Linked DNA regions of Homo sapiens: region 1 is linked to region 2. The links are contacts of gene promoters, found by promoter capture Hi-C in human tissues and cell types (Jung and others, 2019). All regions are on one chromosome and are shown on one strand. Each heading gives the region's core, a stretch centred on a gene start or on the middle of the fragment in contact. The rest is flanking DNA. Distances are from core to core; before and after follow the strand shown.

Region 1 (7,184 bases), core at 3,524-6,023, 480 kb before region 2:
AGAGACATTTAATGTACTCAGTTTTGCGAACAGTACAAACATTTAAGAGCGTTGATTGAGGCTGAATGCGGTGGCTCACGCCTGTAATCCCAGCACTTTGGGAGGCTGAGACGGGTGGATCACGAGGTCAGATTGAGACCATCTTGGCTAACACAGTGAAACGCTGTCTCTACTAAAAATACAAAAAAATTAGCCGGAAGTGGTGGCGGGCGCCTGTAGTCACAGCTACTCGGGAGGCTGAGGCAGGAGAATGGCGTGAACCCATGAGGTGGAGCTTGCAGTGAGCAGAGATCGCACCACTGCGCTCCAGCCTGGGCAACAGAGTGAGACTCTGTCTCAAAATTAAAACAAATAGTGTTGATTGGGAGTAAGGGAATGTCAACTGCCAATAAATGTAGAAGATGAAAGAACAGGACTTTAAACAGCACATACTTAGTTATGGGTCTCCGTCTCCTACCCATACAGAAAAACTCCCTGACATTCATGACTTCATCCACTCTGACTAGCAGATAGGCCACATTTCCTGACACCCTGGCGCTTCACCTCAAAAGGTTTGTCTTTCCACCACACCAGCAAAGACCCTCAGGACACATGATTCACGCTGCCAGCTAAGCATCTACCCCAAGGGACAAGGTAAGCACACACTGAAGCAGCTGGGCCATCCTAGTCCTAATCCCTACAGCGGTGTCCACCCTGAGAATTGCAGCACTTGTAGAAGGTGATCATCAGCTCGTCTGCAGAGCAAGTCTGAAGCTGCATGAAGTAAGCACGAGGATGTTTGCATTTGAGACATGGCTCTAGCAATCAGAAAAATAAAGAAGTGACCCACATTAAAAAAAAATATTGCTCATGACTGTTAAAAGTAGGTATTACTATCTTTTCTTTTTTTTTTTGAGACGGAATCTCCCATTGTTGCCTGGGCTGGAGAGCAGTGGCGCACTCTCAGCTCACTGCAACCACCACCTCCCAGGTTCAAGCAATTCTCCTAACCCAAACCCTAGCCCTAACACTACACAAACCCAAACCTGAACCCTAACCCTAAACCCTAACACTAACCCCTAAAGCTAACCCTAACCCTAACCCCTAAAACTAACCCTAACCCTAAACCCTAACCCCTAAAACTAACCTTAACCCTAACCCCAACCCTAACCCTAACCCTAACTTCTTAATCAACCGTATTGACTAATGAAGTAAACATGAGTAGGCCAGTCGAGGTGGCTTACATCTCTAATCTCAGCACTTTGGGAAACTGAGGCAGGCAGATCACCTGAGCTCAGGAGCTCGAGACCAGCTGGCTAACATGGTGAAACCCGGTCTCTACTAAAAATACAAACATTAGCCGGGCGTGGTGGCAGGCGCCTGTAATCCCAACTACTCAGTAGGCTGAGGCAGGATAATCACTTGAACCCGGGAGGTGGAGGTGGCAGTGAGCTGAGATCACACCACTGCACTCCAGCCTGGGCGACAGAGCCAGACTCCATCTCAAAAAAAATAAAAAATAAAAAGCAAACATGAGTGTTTAAACCTGAAATTTTTTGCAACTGGTATATGTGTGATATACACACACATACACACACACAGGGCTGGAGAATATAGTAAGATAATATTCTGTCCAGTAAACTCTTATGAAATTTCAATGATCAATTGTGCCCTCTGCCTTTCATTCTGTGTTGAGCTTTTATTTTTCTTTACTGATTATCCCAAATATGGACTCTGCTTTTATGTATCTATTTCCTTGATTTATAAATTAAGGGTGATTCTCACATATGATCTACCAAACATTTTTTTTTTGGTCTAAAAAAATCACGTCAGAACATTTGTGTTGTTAGACATCATAACCGCTGTGACTTGAAGGATCTAGGTAGACAGAATCTTAAGAGTATTTGATAAGAGGGTGTTGGATGTGCATAGAGTTCCCAAGACCCCCGAGAGCCTGCTGTGTCCCTGCAGGTGGAGGCCGCAACGCAGGCAGCTGGGCTGGGCTGGGCGGGTGGGCAGCAGGTGGGAGCGCTCAGGGACTGGGGGCCAGGTCAGTTGTGCAACCCCTGTTCTGAGGCCAGTGGGAAACCATCGTTAAAGTTAAATAAGAAGAGTGATGGGATGAGACTTGTTTGTAAAGGAGAGTTTTGTCACAATCACCCTGAGGTCTCTGTGGGGTGTGGGTGGGTCTGTGCTCCTCCGGGGAACTCGCTGTGCGGAGCACTGCCGGAGGCTGCGAGTTCCCACCTGGAGTGCGGCGTCTGCATCTGCCCAGGGGGAACCGCTGTGCAGACCCAGGCTGGGGGCAGCTCTGCTCTTCAACTCTGCGAAGGCTCCAGAAAAGGAAAACTGGACCCAGATGGAAAGAGACATTTTCCACCCAGCCGGGGTGGCTGCGAAGTGAAACGGGCCTGCGGACACGACCCTCAGGTAGAAACGTGGCCTCCTGCGCTGGGGTCACCTGGCGCTTACCTGGGAGGGGTCCCTGTTTTGGGTGAAAAACACTGGGGTGTTTTCTGTGAGATGCAGATCTGGCTCAGCAACAACCGCTGAGGAATCTGAGAGAAAAGAGAAAGAAAACTCCACACTACCGTTGCAAGTTTCCTGAAAGTATGGAATTATTGGGAAGTAAGCTACTTTTTAAAACAACTGTGTCAATTCCACGCCCGTGAAGCAGATACGACAACAAGCTCCACTGTGGAGGCCAAGCCCGAGGCAGCTCCAGCTCAGCAGCAGCTGTGAGCAGCTGGAGGCTACGTTAGTTTTGATTATGTCAGTGTTGATTATTGTGAGCGGGGACTGCGGGGCCGTGTGGGGAGCACGGGGTTTCATATTAACATTTTTGTATTGAGGCAGCGCATTAGCATTACAGGTGTTTGTTACCTGAGCACTGCGAGTGTCACATTCGTATTTCGGGAGGCATATCTGCATTAGGAACGCTCCATTTGTGTTCCAAGGCCGCGGTGTAGACCTCGCACTGCGCCCGCCTCGCCTTGGGTGGGGAGAACCTCAGTGCTCAGGATTCGGAGGGGCTTTTGGTTTCCAGTTTCCCACACCGACCCCGCTTACTGGTCTCTAACCCTCAGTAGTCAGGGCTGCAAACAGGAAGGATTTTACTCACCATGGCCTCGAGTTGTCCCAAAGCGAGGCGGTGCCCCCCGGGTCTGTGCCGAGGAGGACGCGGGCTTCACCCTCGCTTCGGCCCGGTGTGGACGCCCTGCTGGCGGCCGGGGGCACTGCAGGGCCCTCTTGCTCACGGTGTCATGGCCTTGCGCCCCCTGCTGGCGGCCTGGGCACTGCAGGGCCCTCTTGCTCACGGTGTCATGGCCTTGCGCCCCCTGCTGGCGGCCTGGGCACTGCAGGGCCCTCTTGCTCACGGTGTCATGGCCTTGCGCCCCCTGCTGGCGGCCGGGGGCACTGCAGGGCCCTCTTGCTCACGGTGTCATGGCCTTGCGCCCCCTGCTGGCGGCCTGGGCACTGCAGGGCCCTCTTGCTCACGGTGTCATGGCCTTGCGCCCCCTGCTGGCGGCCAGGGCACTGCAGGGCCCTCTTGCTCACGGTGTCATGGCCTTGCGCCCCCTGCTGGCGGCCGGGGGCACTGCAGGGCCCTCTTGCTCACGGTGTCATGGCCTTGCGCCCCCTGCTGGCGGCCAGGGCACTGCAGGGCCCTCTTGCTCACGGTGTCATGGCCTTGCGCCCCCTGCTGGCGGCCGGGGGCACTGCAGGGCCCTCTTGCTCACGGTGTCATGGCCTTGCGCCCCCTGCTGGCGGCCGGGGGCACTGCAGGGCCCTCTTGCTCACGGTGTCATGGCCTTGCGCCCCCTGCTGGCGGCCGGGGGCACTTCAGGGCCCTCTTGTTCACGGTGTCATGGCCTTGCGCCCCCTGCTGGCGGCCGGGGGCACTGCAGGGCCCTCTTGCTCACGGTGTCATGGCCTTGCGCCCCCTGCTGGCGGCCAGGGCACTGCAGGGCCCTCTTGCTCCCAGTGTAGTGGCGGCACGCACCCTGCTGGCGGCTGGAGACACTGCAGGGCCCTCTTGCTGCCACAGCCACCTGGCATTGAACAGCGACAGTGTGGCCAGCACTGTGCTAAGCTCATCTCGGTCATTCTCTCACCACATCCTCCAACGAGCCCGTGAGGCCCAGAGAGGTTAGGCGAGTTGCCAGTGGTCACACAGCCGATAGCGGCCAGGCTGGAACTTGGACTCAGGCTCCCAAGTCTCACCCACCAGCATGTGCTGCCTCTGAAGAGTTTGGGATTCCCCTTCAGGGCAACTGGGAGCCACGAGGGATTTTTAAGGGGGGTGGGTAGCACGGTCTCAGTGCCCTAAATCCCCAAGTCACGTTCGTGGAGAACCCGCTGCGTCCACCTGGGAGACGTGGCTGGTCTGTTTTCAGGGTCTGACCCTGCTGGCCTCTTCCTACACCACTTAAAGTTGGAGTGCAGGTTGTTCAGCACTATCAATTCTGCAAATTCAAACTGAAATGGAGCTAATACTGGGGAGACCTGATGTCCCAGTTCTTGTCTAACTTGAAAGAAAGATTCTCACCAAGAGGCAGTACAAAGATGGCAGATAACTTCATTGAAAAGAAATATAGTGTAAAGAGCTTATTGTAGAAAAAATAAGTATGCCTCAAGGGAGAAGTGGGGCTGATCTGCAGGAACACAGCCCCAGGGTCCTGAGCAGGGAGTTTTATGTTGGACTTCTTCACATTCCTCAAGTCTCCACCTCTTTTCTTTGTCTGGTTTTCCTGCTCCTTCCTTAGATCCCTGACTTGCCCCGCCTAGGCTTGTGGGACCCCCTCACTGTTGGCTGACACATATGTGCAGTGATCAGTGTGATTCCACTGCTGGGGCTGGGCTCCTTCCTGCCACTCCAGGAAGGTCCTACAGTGGTCATGTCTGTACCTACTGTGCCTGCCTATCTCTTTCGAATGTCCTTCTCTGCCCTAATCTGTACTTATGGTGCCAGGTTTCTCTTAAGAATGTCCCCTTTGTCCTTATCAGCATGTAGCTAGCAATATCCTAACATTTTAACAGCAGAGTGAATGATTATTGGGGCATCTTAAGAGGAGCTCTGTGCCCCAAACTCACACAGCCTCCCAGAACCTCCTCTACCCAACCCCAACCCTAACCCACCACTGTAATCTTAACCAATCCTAACCCTGATCCCCAGGGAAGTTGAATCTGCCTCCTCCTGCCAAGTGCCTCCCTTGATCCTCACCACACTCTCAAAACCTGATCCCTAACCCTAACCCGAACCCTAACCCGAACCCTAACCCTAAGCTCAAATTTAGTTGAGCTTCTATGGAATTATGTCTATGTAGCTAGGCATGAAGTTGATGATTTTTAAAAAATCTATGCCTTATTTGTGTAATAAAATACACAATAAATAATTAATGCTCATAGGAAAACATGTTAGACCTTGTGAAGGGAAAATAAATCTTGGGGACCCAAAATCGCTAAGCTAAAGGGAAAAGTCAAGCTGGGAACTGCTTAGGGCAAATCTGCCTCCCATTCTATCCAAAGTCACACATCTGCTCACGGAGATAAATGCATAGCTGATTGCCTCATTTGGAGAGGGTAATCAGCAAAGCAAAAGAATGAAACCATTTGTCTCTTACCTACCTATGATCTGGAAGCCCCCTATCTGGCCTTCTCACCTTTCTGGACTGAACTAATGTACACCTTACATATATTGATTGATGTCTCATGTCTCCCTAAAGTGTATAAAGTGTATAAAACCAAGCTGTGCCTCGACCACCTTGGGCCCATGTTGTCAGGACCTCCTGAGGAGGCATCACGGGGGCTCCACTGCAAACTTGGCAAAATAAACTTTCTAAAAAATCTGAGAGCTGTCTCAGATTTTCAGGGCTCATACATGTAATGTAGTATGTCAATGTTTATAAAACAGACATTATTCTGTCTACTATTACAACTATGCTGCAATTAACCTTAGACTTTCCCAACAAAATAAAAAATGATGAGGTACAAACAATATATTTAAACTTAAATAATGGTGCAAGTTTTAATATGCCTACTTTTCAATTTTTCAATACTATTTTTACTACTTTAACACTGTAAGAAAAATGAGCAATTAAAACATGAATAAAAGTGTTTACAGGGGGTGCACGTGTTTCCTCCAGCCTCTGCCCATCCCCAGCTTTCATCCCAACTGTCCTGATGGTGGCTCTAAGCATTTCCCCTGTCTCTATACCAAGATCTCTTCCCAGAAACAAGCCCAAATCTTACCATATGTTATGGCACGCTATGGTGATGAGCTGCGATGAGCAGCCGAAGCCTCAAGGAAGGGATGCTTTTGTAAAACAAGACTTGTAGAATAAAACGTGTGAAAGTAAAGCCCATGGCAGAGTTCCCTCCTCAGCACACGGGGAGCAGACAGGAAGCTTTTGCCTCACCTTCCTCAATGGCCTGCAGCCACGTCTCCCAGGTCAGTCTTAAGGACAACGAAACTCTGGTCTTCACTGTGGACACGCCACACTACCAGGTGCTCCAAAGCCATGGTGACCCATCCTCGGGTGGGTCCTGACGAGAACAAAGCTCTGGTTCTAATTCTAACCCTAACCCTGTCCCAAGACTTTGACCCTGAACCTAAACCCTGATCCCTACCCTGGTCCCTAATTCTGACCCTTACTTTGACCCTGACTTTGATCTCGACCCTGACCATGACCCCACCTCTAACCATACTTCTGGCCCTGACTCTGACCCAGATCCTAATCCTATCCCTAACCCTATTATTATCTTTACAATCTATGTCTAATCTTACTGTCTAGTGCTAAATAGCTGTACCCAAAAGCACTTTTAAATCCTTTAACTTCTTTTCCTTGAATTCTCTAAGGACATCTTAAAGGAGATGTCATTATGTATTTTGCATTCCCTCTGAGTGGTATGGCTTCACATATGAAGTTCTAATACTTTGCAAGACATAAAATGTTTGGAGGGTAACAGCACTGGGTTGTTAGGGATGTATGTTGGCATTCATGATAGTCATTGGTGCTGTTCTCCAAATATTTTCAGTCCATTTTTTTATGAATGCATTCTGACTGTTCCATCCCACCTACTTAAATTTTTCCATGGCCACATGACTTTTCTATTTTTATTTTTATTTTATTTTTTGCTAATGGAGGTGAGAAGAAATAACATGTGACTTTTTCAGGAGAAATCTCCAAGAAACAGAGTTCTAC
Region 2 (6,842 bases), core at 1,464-3,963:
CAGAGTTTGGACTCTGAACATAATGTAACTCCCCACCAAGAGCTGACTGTGACTATGGGCACTGTTTCTATGAAGGGAGCTCTTGGTGGCCCTTTGTTGTAACTGTTGATTGCACACATCTGGAAACCATGACAACCGTTTTGCTTTTAGTTCAGCTTGGCCCAAATGTAGCTCTATATAAGGCAGCTTCCATACTTCAGTTTTTCCCAACACATCATAGCTTGGCTTGAATTTGGGCAGAAGGGTGGGTGCCAAAGGAAATGTACAATGTCTGAGAAAAATTCTTATTCAACTAACAATTACCCAGATCTGTATGGCCCCACTAGGGCACTGTTCCTGGAGCTTTTGTGTACATTCTCCCACTGAAAATGCAGTGGGAAGCTTTATGATGATGCCTACTTTGCAGGTGTTTCGATGACTCTGGGTGGTTTAAGTGACTTTCCAAAGTCACAGAGATAATAAGGCATAGACTTGGGATAAGATCCCAGGCTTCTGACATGGAAAAAAGCAGGTCACAAGGATTTGCGGTGTTAGAAGAACAGCAGCTGTAGTGTCTGCCTGCCAGTGTGCCTTGAGTTGACACTGTCCACAACAAGTACTGGAAGGCAGGAGAGGGGAGGTCCTATGTAAGTTTCCTTGGCCTTTAGAAGAAACCCTGTGTCCAGGCTCTCTGTCAACTAAGTCACATATCGAACTGGGGCAGGTAGTGATATATGGCTAATTAAATGTGCCATGTAAACAATATCTGACCACTAATTTTAAAAAACAGTTTGTAAAACATTCCTGGCATCATTTAATCTTTTGGGGTTTTCACTTGTTGTATTCAGAAGGTATTTTAGGACCAACCTTAATTGTCATGCATTCATTCAACGAATATTTATTAACCTACCTACTGTGTTGTATCCAGCACTGTTTTGTTTTGTTGTTGTTTGTTTTTTTGGGGACAGAATCTCACTCTGTTGCCTAGGGTGGAGTGCAGGGGCACAATATCTGCTCACTGCAACCTCCGCCTCCTGGGTTCAAGCGATTCCCGTGCCTCATACTCCCAAGTAGCTGGGATTACAGTTGTGCGCAGCAACTCTCAGCTAATTTTCGTATTTTTCATAGAGACAGGGTTTCACCTTGTTGGCCAGGCTGGTCTTGAACTCCTGACCTCAGGTGATCCTCCCGCCTTGGCCTCCCAAATTACTGGGATTACAGGTGTGACCCACTGCACCCAGCCATAAAACTCTTTAACACAAACTCTTCAAAGTGACATCTTTTGTAACCTTCATAGGTTACAAAAGGTATTGATATATTAATAGATTGAGATTTGATTGCGGGGGGGCGGGGCAGGGGGAGAATGCTAAAAAAATAAGTCAGCTTTCTTTTCTGTAACTATTTAAAAGAATGCAAAGTAATTCTACAGGCAATTCCTTGGTGGGCTTATTTGGTAATTTTTTTTTTCTTTTCCATTTTCCTCTTGCTCTTTGGTTTGTAGGAGAACCGCTTTATTCCCAGGAGGCAATTTTGAGTCCCAACATGTCCTGCATCATCTCCTGTGCCCATTGCCAAAGGAAGGCGACCAGAGCGTGGGTTTCAGCACAGCTCTGATTGGATGATAAGCAAGGAGAGTAATGTGCTGCTAGGAGGTTAGAGAAAAGAAAATACTAGAATATACCAGAATGTAGTATTTCCACTTCCCTCCCTCCAAATCAAAAGCCTCATGAATGAAATTATGACCATTATTCAAGTGCAATTATACTGAGTATGTAAAATGGAAACACTGAAAGTAAATCATACATTTGGATATTACATTTCATATTTGAGAACATGCCAGAAACATTGTATTATTGTTGAGTGTAATGTCAGGAGACAAACTTCTACGCATTTTATACATAAATTTTTCCATTTTCTCTGTTTCCCATTTATGTCAAGTTGAACACATGGTATGACTTTTAATATTCTCTCTTCCTTCTCCTTCCCCACATTGAATGTCAAGTGATCACACTCAATCTTGATTATCCTAAATTTACCCTTAGGACCTGTCACCTCATTGGGTGTTGCCGCTAGAACAAGAGGGTTTTTTAAATGGTATAAAAAGGAGAGGCCCGGCTTGGTAGCTCATGCCTGTAATTCTAGCACTTTGGGAGGCTGGGGCGGGAAATCCCTTGATCCCAGGAGTTTCAGACCAGCCTGGGCAACATGGTGAGACTCTGTCTCTATAAAAAAAAAAATTTTTTTTTTTAATTTAGCTGGGTGTGGTGGCATGCCCTGTAGTCTCAGCTACTATGGAGGCTGAGGTGGGAGGATCACTTGATCCTGGAAGGTGGAGGCTGCAGTAAGCTGAGTGGCACCAGTGCACTCCTGTCAAAAGAGAGAGAGGAGAGAGAGAGAGAGAGAGAGGAAGAGTCCCTAAAGAAACCTATAAAACTGGGGTCTTATGGATGCTAGCACATATCTTGGAAAGAACTGCCAGCGCCAGTGGATTACAGAAGACAACTGTGGCTACAGGCTGTTCTTGCCAGCTCAGGCGTCAACTCGTGGAAACCGGTTAATGACCCGAGGGGACAGCGGATTCTCGCCTAAGCAAGATCCCGCAGATGGGAGGGCGTAGGAAGAGGTTCCCCGGGCCGGCTCCAGGCCCCAGCGGGCGTGGGCGTTGGCAGTGAGCGAGGGGTGGTCCCGCGCCGCGCCGGCGGGGGGCGCCCGAATGAGAGCGCGGGGCGGTGCCGTTGGGACCACGGCGGCCAGAGCGGCAGGATGGCTTCCGGCTTCAAGAAGCCCAGCGCTGCCTCCACCGGCCAAAAGAGAAAGGTGGCACCTAAGCCCGAGCTCACTGAGGATCAGAAGCAAGAAGTTCGGGAAGCATTTGACCTCTTCGACGTGGACGGAAGTGGGACCATCGACGCGAAGGAGCTGAAGGTGGCCATGAGAGCGCTGGGCTTCGAACCCAGGAAGGAAGAGATGAAGAAAATGATCTCCGAGGTGGACAGGGAAGGCACGGGGAAGATCAGCTTCAATGACTTCCTGGCCGTGATGACGCAGAAGATGTCCGAGAAGGACACCAAAGAAGAAATCCTGAAGGCCTTCAGGCTCTTTGATGACGATGAGACCGGGAAGATCTCGTTCAAAAACCTGAAGCGTGTGGCCAACGAGCTGGGGGAGAACCTCACGGATGAGGAGCTGCAGGAGATGATCGACGAAGCTGATCGGGATGGGGACGGCGAAGTGAACGAGGAGGAGTTCCTTCGGATCATGAAGAAGACCAGCCTTTACTGAAGTCGGTTCAGAAGCTAAAGTGACTCTCTGGGTTGCCTGCTTCCATTTTGTGAAACCTTAGAGGACAGCGGCTGCCTGTCCCTTCTTCACCCCCTCACCCCCATAATTTGTCTAGATCTATTTCCATATCTCTAGTTCAATAATAGAATTTGAAAGATGCTTGTAATGTGAGTTTTGGGTTTTAATTCTCAAGAGTCAACCTGGAGCACATGAGGTTAAACAAAGGGCCCTGAAGTTTGAGTGCGCCCTCCATTTGCCCTGTGCTGAACTTGCTGTTCATCTGTTGATCTGGAGGCAGGACAGCTTCTGGGACACACAAAAATGTGGTTCCCTTTGTCACTTCTTTGGTGGTCTTAAATTATCTTGCTTCATATATCATTCCTTAAATTCCAGTCATTGTTCCAGCATAATGAGATGGAATCTGCCAGTAGATTTGCCTAGCCTGTCCACTTAGCTGAATACCAGTTTGAAGGAAAACAGGGTGGCCACTTACAAACTTACGGAGCTCAGGACAGATAATCTTATAAAGAATAGACTTGCTTGGGTGGTAGTACGTTGTGCAATTTTGACTATTCACTGGCTTTATACCTGCAAATGATTCTTCGTTCATGTGTAAATTGTCCACCATGGGTTTATCTAGGGCTAGTATGTATACCTGGGCTACAGAATAAAAATAAAATCTAATACTGGCCCAAGCAAAGTATAATTTGCTTAAGAGGTTACGCTAACAAACGATTTTGAGTAAATATTTACAAATGTAGGATCTTAGTTTAGGAAATTATAACAAATACCTTAATATAACATTTTAAGCTACTTATAGTCCTTGGAAATAGCAACAAATATCTTAGTTATTGGACTATTATAACCTTAGTCATCTTATTACTGCTTGATTATGAGACACTCTCCCTGCTAATCCTTAGAACATCTTGGTTCTTGGTACTTGACTTTTAGCCCCTCTGACATATAGTTGATGTCAGAGTGTCTGGCATTTCAGTAGTGCTCTATTTTACAAATCCCAGTAAACTGCTCCACTGTGGCTTGTTTATGTGTTAATACTGCTTGTTTTCTGTTATAAATTATTTTTTGCTTTGGAGTAAGATATCATCATTTTGCATAGCTACAAATCTGAAGTTAAAGAAAATTTTAAAAATGTAATTGTGGGAAAATAACAAATAGATCTGCTGAGATGGAGGCTTTGACTAATGTTTTAATAACAGGCAACAAAACAAAGAGGCAGGATATTTTGGTCACAACTAAACCTAAATTAAATCCTCATACAAAGCCCCATTAAGATAAATGCTCAAATTCTGGGAACATTTCACTTGCTTTGCCAGCAATTTTACCCTTCAGAGGGTGTGGATCTAATCAGGGGAACAAACTACCCTGGGCTTAATTCTCATTAACAGGGACTAATTTGTCAAAGCGGCAGTACTAGCTGAAGTGATGGGTATGGAAGCATTCACTGTGAGGATTTTGCTGAGGTGCCTGGCACAGGGTAGGGGAACTCACCCAGGCTGCAAGATGCTAACAGTTCAGGTTCAAGGTCTTAGTGTGGACTAAGGTGCAGTCAGGATGGGAACAGGTGCAACTTGGGCCAACATCAGTATGAAGGGCCTGATCTGAGGGCAGGGGAAGGAGGGGGCATTCTGGGAAGCAAGAGTTCCTGGTATCCTGTTGACCAGAGTCTTGGCCCAAGGATCAACGTATGAATTAAAGTAGAAATACCAGAAACAAAGAAAGTTGGCAGAAACTAGGAGAAGCAGAGTCTCAGCCAACTGGACTGGGCTCAGCCTTGGCTACTGGCCCGGCAGATGATAGAAGAGAAAACCAGGAACCCAGGCTGAAGCCCAGTGGTTGGGCTGGCCACACACCATGCATAGCCTTAAAGGGGTGGCCTAAGGGCATGGTCCGCTCCAAAAAAGGAAAGGGGGCCCCAGAATATTTCTGAATCCCACTCACTGCCAGGGAAGAACCTCTCAATTCACTCAATAGTGCATTCTCCTGCTTCTCAATAGGCTAATACTCTAGAGAATATGGGGACAAGGGGAGGAGGGTCTAGTGGAACAGGTCTAAACTGGCGTTTGAATTTTAAGATAAGTTAATCATACATTGGCTGGGTCAGCCATGTCTCTTAGTCTTTACAAAAGTAGAACACAAAAAAATTCAATGGAAATCTACAGACACCTATTTGCAGATGAGGAAACACGGCTATGAAGATTGGGAAGATTGGGAAGAACTGGCCAGGTGTGGTGGCTCACGCCTGTAATCCCAGCACTTTGGGAGGCCGAGGCTGGTGGATCACTTGAGGTCAGGAGTTGGAGACCAGCCTGGGCAACATAGTAAAACCCTGTCTCTACTCAAATTACAAAAATCAGCAGGGCGTTGTGGTGCCCACCTGTAATCCCAGCTATGCAGGAGGCTGAGGCAGGACAATCACTTGAACCTGGTAGGCGGAGGTTGCAGTGAGCCAAAATCACGCCACTGTACTCCAGCCTGGGTGACAGAGCAAGACTTTGTTTAAAAAAAAAAAAAAAAAGGGAAGAACTAAAAATGTAATTTTCAAGGGGCTATCACAAATGGTCCCAATAAAGAGAAAGCAGGACTCATGTTTAAGAAACCCATGAGATGTGTATGGACCTCATGGAAGAGCTCTTGCTTTCTAATGATCTACGTAACAGATGAAAAGCAGAGCATAGGGCTAAGGATGAAAATACAACAGTAATAAGGTATTAATATATTATTAAGAAAGCTAATGCTCCACATAAGCAGAGGACATTAAAGGGACTTTTTTTTCTTAAGGATATCTTAATGTTTTAAATGAGAAGACATAGAAAGGGATAGGTCCAACTCTTGGGATTGTTGCAGGTTGGTTTCCATCGGAAGCACTCTGAGTCTGAGATTTGTATGCAGAAAATTAATTTGAATGTGCTTTTCAGATCACCCAGGTGGGGGAGGGAGGAAACCAGGACTGGGCAGAGAGAGGCTGGGCTGTAACCAAGTCACAACAAAGGTGTCAGCTGGTCCCATGGTGAATTCTGGACCTAGGATGGCTGATCCCAAGGCATTCCAAACTGGGGCAAGGAAGTTGTGCTTTAAAACTTCTCATTGACTGTCAGTCACTGGGCATGAGCAGTCCCCAGGAAGGGGGGATGACCTTGAGCAAGGTGGATGTCTTCAGCCAAGGGCAATCACTGGGAAGGAGAACCCAGCTATGAACTGTCAGCTGCCAACACTCCCAGCATCTGAGAGGATGAGGGCTTCAATTCTAAGGGCAGGGGCTCCAAGGGCAGGGGTACGGATGGTGGAATCTGGGCAGTACCTTGTGGCTTCCACTACAGTCCACCCCTTGCACCACTTAGTTCCACTGGCTTTTTTTTTTTTTTTCTTTTCTGAGACAGTCTCACTCTGTCACCCAGGCTGGAGTGCGGTGGCACGATCTCGGCTCGCTGCAACCTCCGCCTCCCAGGTTCAAGCAATTCTTGAACCTCCTGAGTAGCTGGGACTACAGATGTGTGCCACCACACCCAGCTAATTTTTTGTATTTTTAGTAGAGACGGGGTTTTACCGTGTTAGCCAGATTG

What was found. Contacts are between HindIII fragments. The study calls those that stand out against the background at their distance.
Region 1: a fragment that was not itself captured here is called in contact with the fragment with the promoter of CETN1 in region 2 in 1 of the 25 tissues and cell types used here (lymphoblastoid cells).

What each region holds. Positions count from the first base shown.
Region 1 is chr18:93,530-100,713 of GRCh38, forward strand. No RefSeq gene overlaps it. Among named protein-coding and RNA genes, the nearest start is that of MIR8078, 15 kb to the right of the region's middle. The HindIII fragment of the contact is 6,681 bases long and covers 1,434-7,184 here.
Region 2 is chr18:577,667-584,508 of GRCh38, forward strand. CETN1 (centrin 1) reads left to right here and starts at 2,714. Exons shown (of 1, transcript NM_004066.3): 1 at 2,714-4,448. The coding sequence starts at 2,743. The coding sequence ends at 3,261. The HindIII fragment of the contact is 12,122 bases long and covers 90-6,842 here.